3 separate regions of the Homo sapiens genome follow, and all the other regions are linked to region 1. The links are contacts of gene promoters, found by promoter capture Hi-C in human tissues and cell types (Jung and others, 2019). All regions are on one chromosome and are shown on one strand. The core of a region is centred on a gene start or on the middle of the fragment in contact, and the rest is flanking DNA. Distances in the headings are between cores, read along the strand shown.

Region 1 (2,729 bases), core at 3-2,502:
GTGCGGCGTCCAGCTGCAGGTAGCGGGCGGCTAGCGGCAGAGAGCTGGCTAGTAGCGGCCGGAGCTGCTCCAGGGAAAACGCCTGCCCGGAATCCCTCCTCAGGGCGCTCGCCAGCTCCTCGCGGGCCACCAGGAAGGCCCGCTCCTCTTCCTCCCCCGGCATCCTGAGGCAGGAGTCAGCCCCAGCCTCGCCGCCCGCCAGGACCCGGCGCGGGCAGCGCGCGGCCCGAGCGCCGCCCCTCCCGTCTGGTGCCCGGCTTTGAGGCCCACCCCGGCCCACGCAGCCGCCCCAGGTCACTCAGACCACGGTCACTCTCCAGCCCCCGGCCCAGCGCCAGGGTTAGCCGAGAACAGGAAGTACTAGGAGAGAGGGTGGGACTGCGACCCAATTTCGGAGGAACGGGCGGGGCTTAAGGTTAAGGTTGGAGCGGTGTCAGGAAACCAGGGGGCGCGGCCAAGAGGGAGGGCCAGGTCCCAACCAATGAGAAGGCAAATGGCTCCTGGCTCCTCCCTCAGAGCGCGCCAGCATCTTCCCTCAGTCAAGCGCTCTTCCCCGCCTTCCCCCAATCTGGTTCCACCCCTTCCGGATAGCCGCAGGCGCGGGGTTATCCTATTCAGCTCAAAACCTTTCTTTTTCTAGCTGGACCAGTCCGGTACGCTCCGGGCCTCACCGAGGAAGTCCCACCCTGCAGGGGAACCGACTCTGGCCGGCCCTAACCCCTCTCGAGCGAGTCCCGCCCCATCTCCGGTCTGTCCTGAAGGCAGAGGGAAGACCCTCACCCAACCCCTGCCCGCTCTCTTCTAAGAGCTGCTAGTCCTTCTCCACCCCAGGCGCTCCCTCTGGCTGCCCCTCCCACTCGCTCTGATCTCTCTCCGTCCGCTACTTGCGGTCGAGCCTTCTTGGGGGAGCCCCGCCACTGAATACCCCCTTTGCCATACTCCCACCTCTCTTACCCCAACCCTGGACTTCCAGTTGGCCCTAGCTATAAGCCCCGCCCCTCTCCGAGGGACAGCCCCCGCTCCAGTCTCCGCGGTCCCACTTACCCTAGCCCCTCCCTCGGGCAGCCCCTGGACTGTGACCCAGCCAGCACCGCCTCTCCTAGTGGCAACTGGCTGGGAATGGCTGAGGGGCTACCTACTGCTTGCGGCCTGCCAGCGGGAGGAGGGGGGCGGAAAGAAGAAAGGGGGCGGGGTTGAGGGGGGCGGGCCTGGACCTGGGGAGTGAAAGCGAAAGCCCGGGCGACTAGCCGGGAGACCAGAGATCTAGCGACTGAAGCAGCATGGCCAAGCCGTGTGGGGTGCGCCTGAGCGGGGAAGCCCGCAAACAGGTAATGGGGAATCGGAGGCCAGGAAGGGGTCATAGAACCCTCTTGGGTGGAGGCCAAGCTGGGTGGTTCAGGGGACCAAGCAGTGCCAGAGAACTCCCCCAATCTCGCTAGTGCCTTCACTTCTCGGGGATTCCCAGATTCCTGCCTTCTGACTGCAGTGAGCAGGAGCTTCCAGGGAAAGCTAGTTTGTGGTGAGAAAGGCCTGAGCCACAGTTCGAGGGCACCCTGTTGTGGGTGGAAGCTTTTGACAACCCAGACCCTTAACCAACATCCGGGTACTGCTCTCTGTGTAGGTGGAGGTCTTCAGACAGAATCTTTTCCAGGAGGTAAGTCTCTGGATTTGAGCGATTTGACCCAGAATCTTGGACCAATACTTGAGGATAACAGCCTCTCAGAATGACCCCCCCAAGTCACCCTAGACTTAACCCTACTTCCCTTACCAAGCCTTCACCCAAAGTAACCCCGGAATTATTGATAGCTACCTTTAATCTGACCTTTCTTATGACTCTCCCGACTTCTGGCACTTCTCCCGTCTTTTGATGTGGAGGAAAAAAACCATGGCTTCCAAAGCAGGAATATCACAGTCCTAACCTTCGTTCTGCCATTTACCAGCTTGGGCAAGTCCTTTCATTTTCAGGTCTTCAGTTTCCTCATTTGCAAGTCTTGGACCCAGTGATTTCCAAAGGCCCTTCCAGTTCCATTTGTCAGACATCTCATTGAGCATATTCTGTGATTCCCCTCCCTTGCAATGTAACCCACAGGCTGAGGAATTCCTCTACAGATTCTTGCCACAGAAAATCATATACCTGAATCAGCTCTTGCAAGTGAGTAGTGTGGGCCCCTTCTGCCCCATCCTATGTCCTCTATCCCCTTTGCCCACCCTCTCTAGCTAACAACTGGATTCAGCATGCAGAGAATAGTTTCAAATAGTGGATTAGGAACATTAGGATGGCGTGAGGCATGAGCCTAGGTTGGGAGGCAGAGTGCAAGTGGGATGTATGGAGGGAAGGCTGTGACCTAGGATGAAGGGAAGAGGTTGGGCAGCCCTTGACAGTGAGCTCTGTGCAGGAGGACTCCCTCAATGTGGCTGACTTGACTTCCCTCCGGGCCCCACTGGACATCCCCATCCCAGACCCTCCACCCAAGGATGATGAGGTGAGGCACTCAGGGTGCAGGACTTGGACTATAAACCCAATGGAGAAGATAGCCCTTCAACCTCTGTGACTTTTCTAAAGCTACTTTCCCCCCTTTTTGCCTTAGATGGAAACAGATAAGCAGGAGAAGAAAGAAGGTAAGAGAGATAAGAGGTGACTAGGGAAGGGGTGATGGCACACTGACTACTGGATGAGAAAGGGCCTGAATCCCCTCTTTCTCACAGTCCATAAGTGTGGATTTCTCCCT
Region 2 (2,743 bases), core at 174-2,673, 530 kb after region 1:
GCCATTACTGCCTCAGAGCTACTCAATGCAGACTCCAAGGTCCTTCCTACCCCCTCAACCCATCGGTCAGGGTGAACTGAGAGGTCAGCCTGGGGTAGCAGAGCCTCTGTGGCTGACAGGAATCATTCTGAGGGTTGGTTAGTAGGCAGGAGAGTGAAAAGACAGAAGGAAACTGTGTACAGGGGTTGAACACCTCCAGCTGAAGAAGGTGAGAGGTAGAGATCTCTTACCACTAGGGAATGTATCCGAGCCACATGGCACTAAAGTATGTTAGCAGCAGTGAGTCCGTACAGGTCTGCAGCAACCTCAATTCTTGCTTCCTCAGGAGAAAAAATTCAACTGAAGGACATAAGGCAGAGTGAGAGACCCAGGCAAGTGTTGAAGCAGGTGTGAAAAGTTATTAAAAAGCTTTAGAGCAGGAACGAAAGGAAGTAAAGTATGCTAGAAAGAGGGCCAAGCAAGCAACTTGAGAGATCGAGTGCCAGGTCTGACCTTGGACTTGAGTTCTTACATATTGGCATTCTGCATGTGCAATGGCCTGCCAGCACCTGACAGGGACTTCATGTGCAGTGTGTTTACTGGAGTTGTACGCATGCTCACTTTAAGCATTCTTCCCTTACCAGTCGAGTATTCCTAGAAGGTGGTCATATACCAGTTAAACTCAGCCATTTTACCTCTTGATGTGCATGCTTGAGCCCACTCACCCAACTCCTGAGATCTTATCTGGAAGCTGCTGATCACCAGCTTCAGGTGTTTCTATGTATTGGGAGATGGCCGTTCCCTGGCACCAGCTGTGGCCAATTATTATTTTAGAGAAACAGCATAACAACTGGTATTCCTGGTGTGTGGTGGGGAGCTCTCTCCTGCCCTGCTCATGTCTGCCTGACTACCTACTGCAACAAAGCTTCTAAGGAAATATATTGCAGATAAGAGAACATGGTTTGTGCTTAACAAGCCTTTAGGTAAATAACTATACATAAGGCATGGGAGCATAGCATGGGAAAGAAAGGGAGTGGAGGTTCACAGCACATTCTGAGATTGTTATTTCGAGATGAAAGGTAACATATATGCAGTTTGTCTCAAAGTTACCTCTTGAGACTGGGAGGAGGAAGAGGGAAAGGAAAAGAAGAAAAAAAAGTACAAAGCACAGTTTGAGGACCCATTCTTGCCAGTCTGGCTGTCTCCAGAGATGCTGTCACACAATGGAAACAGATGGACCCATGAGTCCACAGCCCCAAACTCAAGCAGGCTCCAGACCCCACTTCATGCTAGGCACCAAGTACTGCAAACACAAAAAAATAATGAAAACATAGTCCCTACCCTCAATAAGCTTACAGAAATAAATAAATAAAAATCAGCTTATAGTCTAATGGAGGAATCAGATAAATGCAACGCAGGGATACATGTCAAAATAGAAGTAGGTCTAAGGTTCAGACGGTTCCCCAGGAAAGCATCATTAAAGGCATGGAGATCACTATGGGATATTTCAGAGGAGGTATCCCTGCAATTGGAAATAGTTCCAGAGTTCAAGACTGAGTTAGCGATAAGGATAATTATTTGGGGATTATTGGTCATAGGTAGAAGCAGCCTCATCAAATGGAATAGAGCTCCCAGGAGCGTGAAGAAAGTGAAAAGAGAAGAGAGCCAGGATTGGAACTGTGGGAGCCAGCCTCTAGATGGCCACTATGATCCCTGCCCACTGGTACTCGCACCCACATAAGTTTCTCACACCACACCAGAGTTGCCAGAGGTAATGGTCCATCACTTCCAAGGTTAGGCTGTAAAAAACAGAGTGTTCTGTCTTGGGCTTGCTCTCTCTCTCCTCTCTCTCTCTCTCAGCACTCTGGCTGCCATATTGGGAGCATCCCTATTGCAAACCCATGTGGTAAAGACCTGAGTCCTCCAGCCAACAGCCAGCGAGGAACTGAGACCAGTGAGGAACTAAGGCCTATTTGCTCAATCATGTGAGTGAGCCTGGAAGCGAATCTCTTAGCCCCAGTCAAGTCTTGAGACAACTGCAGCCCTGCTGACAGCATAGCCACAACCTCTTGAGAGATCCTAAGCCAGAACTACCCAGCTACAGTGCTCTCAGGTTCCTGACTCTCAGAAAGTGTGAGATAACACATTTTCAAGCTGCTGAGTTTTAGGATAATTTGTTATGCAGCAATAGATAACTAATATGGGAACCTTGGTGAGAAGTAACCCATTGAAGAGATAGAGCAGAAAATTCTAAAATATGAGACATTTTAAAAATAAACCAACCATAATTAAAAGAGTATTGTATTGAGACATGAATAAACACATCAAAGGAAAAGAACGGACGGTCCAGAAATATACCTGAGCACACTTGGGAATTTAATGTATGATAAAGGTGGCATTTAAACCAGTGAGAAAAAAGATACATTTGTCAATAAATGATGTTGAAACAACCAGGTAGCTCTCTGGGAGAAAATAAATGAGATTAGATCTGTGCCTTTCACACACTACACCAAAATAAATGTCAGATGAATCCGATTTGAATATTTTTTAAAAACCATAAACCTACAATAATTCTTTTTCTTCCACATGAGAAAAAAACTACATAAAGTCAAAAGAAAAGGACAATTTACACAAAGTTCTAGGATAGACAAAACTCAGCTATAGTGATAGAAATCACATCAGTGATGTGATTTGGGGCACAAGGAAGTTTTCTAGGGTGATGCAAATGTTCTATATCTTGATTGGGCAGTACATCTCAATAGAG
Region 3 (2,981 bases), core at 111-2,610, 680 kb after region 1:
GATATATAAGACACAATAAACATACAATGAAAGAACTACTGAGAACATTAAGTCAGGGGATGCTTACTGTTTGAGTACATCTTACCTTTTCTGTAGGATAGGCACCAGCTTGAACTTTTTGTGTCAGTGATTTCACTTGTGCAGTTACAGCCATCACCTGAAATTAGCCCAAATAAAACAAGTGATTAGATTATATCAAATTATGTCTGCAAACTGTGAAGAGCAAAAGCTAAACAATGCCACCTAAAAATTATCTGAAACACTGTCTAAAGTATAGTACTATCTTCTCACTTCTCGGAAAGCATAGGAGAGATGGTTCTTCAAAAAGTTTAAAAAAAAAAAAACTTTCCACTTCTTAAAGAAGAGACCATCTTTTACTGAACCACAGGGAGGAGAAAAGGACTGAGAGAGTAGTGACTGAAGCACTGTAATTTTGTTTGTACTAGTTGAACTTACAATGCATAGAACTACATAACTCCCCGACTTATGACTTAATTTCCACTTTACGAGGGTGTAAAAGAAATATGCATTCGGTAGAAACCGTCCTTTTCTCGTGATGCTGGGCAGCGGCATCAAGCCTAAATTTCGACTTATGAGGTTTTCGAATTACAATGGGTTTATCAGGCCATAACCTCCATCGTTAAGTCGAGAAGCATCTGTATATAAGTGTGTATTACCTGGGCACCCAAAGGGCAAGTCATGTTACCATTCCAAGCACTGGTTTCCTTAGCTATATGAATAAAGGAAAACTATTCATATAATTTCTTTTTGGAGTTTCTTGTATTCCCTTGGGTGCAGAATCAATTACTTAGAATTCTGGCGTGAAAAGGTTTTGATTACATCATTTTACTCTAAGGTTTTTGGAAGCATTCACGTATCTCAATCACCAAAGTTTTGAGGTGAAGTACACAAACTCAAAGCCAATCCGTGACTAATTTATTCCAGAGGCGACACTACTCACTTGCTCCTGGAGATTTTTCAGAAGTGTCACGGCACTTGGCAGGTCGGACTCCAGCACCCCCTACAGAAGGGAGAGGAGGCGTAAAGAAAAGTCATTCTTTCCTCAGGATTATAGGAAAGTGGAACGTCTAGGGTGGGAAACTGCCCTCTCTCCGTCAGACACCCAGACTCGGGGCCTTCACACTCGGGTTCACAGACTCGCCTTAAAGCCAGCCCCTTGGGTTACCGGACAGGAACGGTAACTCTAGGGAGGCCGCCTCCCTGAAGCAACTTTCATCACCACCCTTCCCTGGTACCAACAGTTTGCCTCCAGCCGCTGAAGGCAAAGGACAACTCCACAATAGCTACGCGAGGAAGAAACCACACCAAACTCACCAGCGCCGCCATCTTCGCAAAGCCCACCCCTTCCGGTGTCGTACTTCCTGAGCGCTAAGGGCGACTTGATAGATTTGATAGACAACTGCCGCTTGCAAATCTAAGCCAATACGAATAAGGGCTTTCTCACTTCCGCCCCCAACAGGATAAACGAGAGGAGGAGTCTGATCTGGCCAATGGAATAAAGGAACTGGCTAAATTCGTCAGACTCAGAAAGAGTCGTCAGGACGAAAAAAAGCACTTGGCAAAGAGCGTGTGATTGGTAGACTGAGTAAAATGATTGACGGCAAGCCAATAAGAGACAGTCAAATAATTGATTGACAGTTGGAAGGACCAATAGAAAAAAGGAATTAGCAGAGCGAACTTAGCGCGTATTGGCTCCCGTCTGCCGCAGCACCCAGAGTCTTTTTTCACGGCACTTTTCTTGTAGTGCGTGAACCGGCCGCTAGGTGATGGGCCTTGGCTTGGCTTTGCGGTGTCGACATTGCAGAGCCGCCATTGCTGGCTGCTCATCCAACGGCCACCGCGCCAAATGCCTTACAGACCCGGTGGCCCTGGAATCGATTCTGTAACACTACTCCTTGTGTGACCGTGGACAAGTCACTCGGTCTCTGAGCCTTCTTCATCTGTAAATAAGAGAGCGAGGCTAGAGAAGCCCAGAGCCAGAGTTTAGAAACCGAGTGCGAGGACACCTGCCCTCTTGGTGTGCACTGTGGAGCGCTGAGAAACGGCTCCAATAACGCCCCGACACTCTTCGCTCCTACCAGTTTGGGGACATGAAAAGAATACGTTTTACAAATTGGGGAACGGTTCATATTTACATGACTTACCGCGGTCACACAGGTCTTCAGCAGAACTTGGTTCAAACTCTGGCAGTGCATGTTTCAGTATAACCTGCCTCATCATTACCCAGTGCTTTCAGATGTGTTCTCTCACTCTGGTTTTTCACAAGCTGGTGAAGTAGGTTGGACGGATACTCATTGTTCCCATCCCATGCCTTAGGAAATAAAGCACCGAAAGGGTGAATGATAGTGTATAATTTTTTGTTCACAACTCGTCCAACAGAGCTGGGTCTAGAAATCAGATCTTACCGACTTGAAGCTGTCTTTTGGAATTAAGAATAACACCTGTATCTGGGCAGGTGAGGTAAGGAAATCCTGGTATCTAGATCTTGCTGGATTCAAGAAGGCAGGAGGGTGTTCAGTCCCCACTCCTCTAACATTTAATTTGCTGCTTCAGGCCCACTGTGGAAGCTCAGGATGCTGTTGCAGCATACTTAGTCAATTATCCAGTAGCTTTTGTAATGTTTTATCAAGATTTGTATTATGAAAAGTTTCTATTTCTACATAAATTTTCGGACCTGTCTAATTAGATCAGCAATAAACTTTTCCTTTTCGGGGAATTTGAAATTTAGTTTGTTCATATGCTTTATGATAGCAATGAGAAAACAAATTGCACTGCCATATTTTGGGTTTTTTTGAGACCGAGTCTCGCTCTGTTGCCCAAGCTGGAGTGCAGTGGCGCGATCTCGGCTCACTGCAACCTCCGCCTCCCGGGTTCAAGCGATTCTCCTGTCTCGCCCTCCCGAGTAGCTGGGACTACAGGCACTTGCCACCACGCCCGGCTGATTTTTTTTTTTTTTTTTT

The links. The method cuts DNA at HindIII sites, captures the fragments that hold promoters and counts their contacts. A contact is called where the count stands out against the background at its distance.
Region 2: a contact is called between a fragment that was not itself captured here and the fragment with the promoter of PSME2 in region 1, in 1 of the 25 tissues and cell types used here (dorsolateral prefrontal cortex).
Region 3: the fragment with the promoter of NGDN here is called in contact with the fragment with the promoter of PSME2 in region 1 in 1 of the 25 tissues and cell types used here (dorsolateral prefrontal cortex).

Annotation. Positions count from the first base shown.
Region 1 is chr14:24,145,133-24,147,861 of GRCh38, reverse strand. It overlaps PSME2 (proteasome activator subunit 2), which reads left to right and starts at 1,252. Exons shown (of 11, transcript NM_002818.3): 1 at 1,252-1,328; 2 at 1,622-1,654; 3 at 2,090-2,152; 4 at 2,397-2,483; 5 at 2,589-2,619; 6 at 2,707-2,729. The coding sequence starts at 1,281. RNF31 (ring finger protein 31) reads right to left here and starts at 364. Exons shown (of 21, transcript NM_017999.5): 1 at 1-364. The coding sequence starts at 163. RefSeq lists silencers at 97-326, 357-446, 1,147-1,206 and enhancers at 288-582, 129-629, 767-836. The HindIII fragment of the contact is 10,846 bases long and covers 1-2,609 here.
Region 2 is chr14:23,619,604-23,622,346 of GRCh38, reverse strand. No RefSeq gene overlaps it. Among named protein-coding and RNA genes, the nearest start is that of DHRS2, 15 kb to the left of the region's middle. The HindIII fragment of the contact is 4,229 bases long and covers 1-2,743 here.
Region 3 is chr14:23,468,082-23,471,062 of GRCh38, reverse strand. NGDN (neuroguidin) reads right to left here and starts at 1,360. Exons shown (of 11, transcript NM_001042635.2): 1 at 1,336-1,360; 2 at 962-1,021; 3 at 86-157. The coding sequence starts at 1,347. RefSeq lists an enhancer at 657-1,597 and a silencer at 1,684-1,733. The HindIII fragment of the contact is 24,550 bases long and covers 1-2,981 here.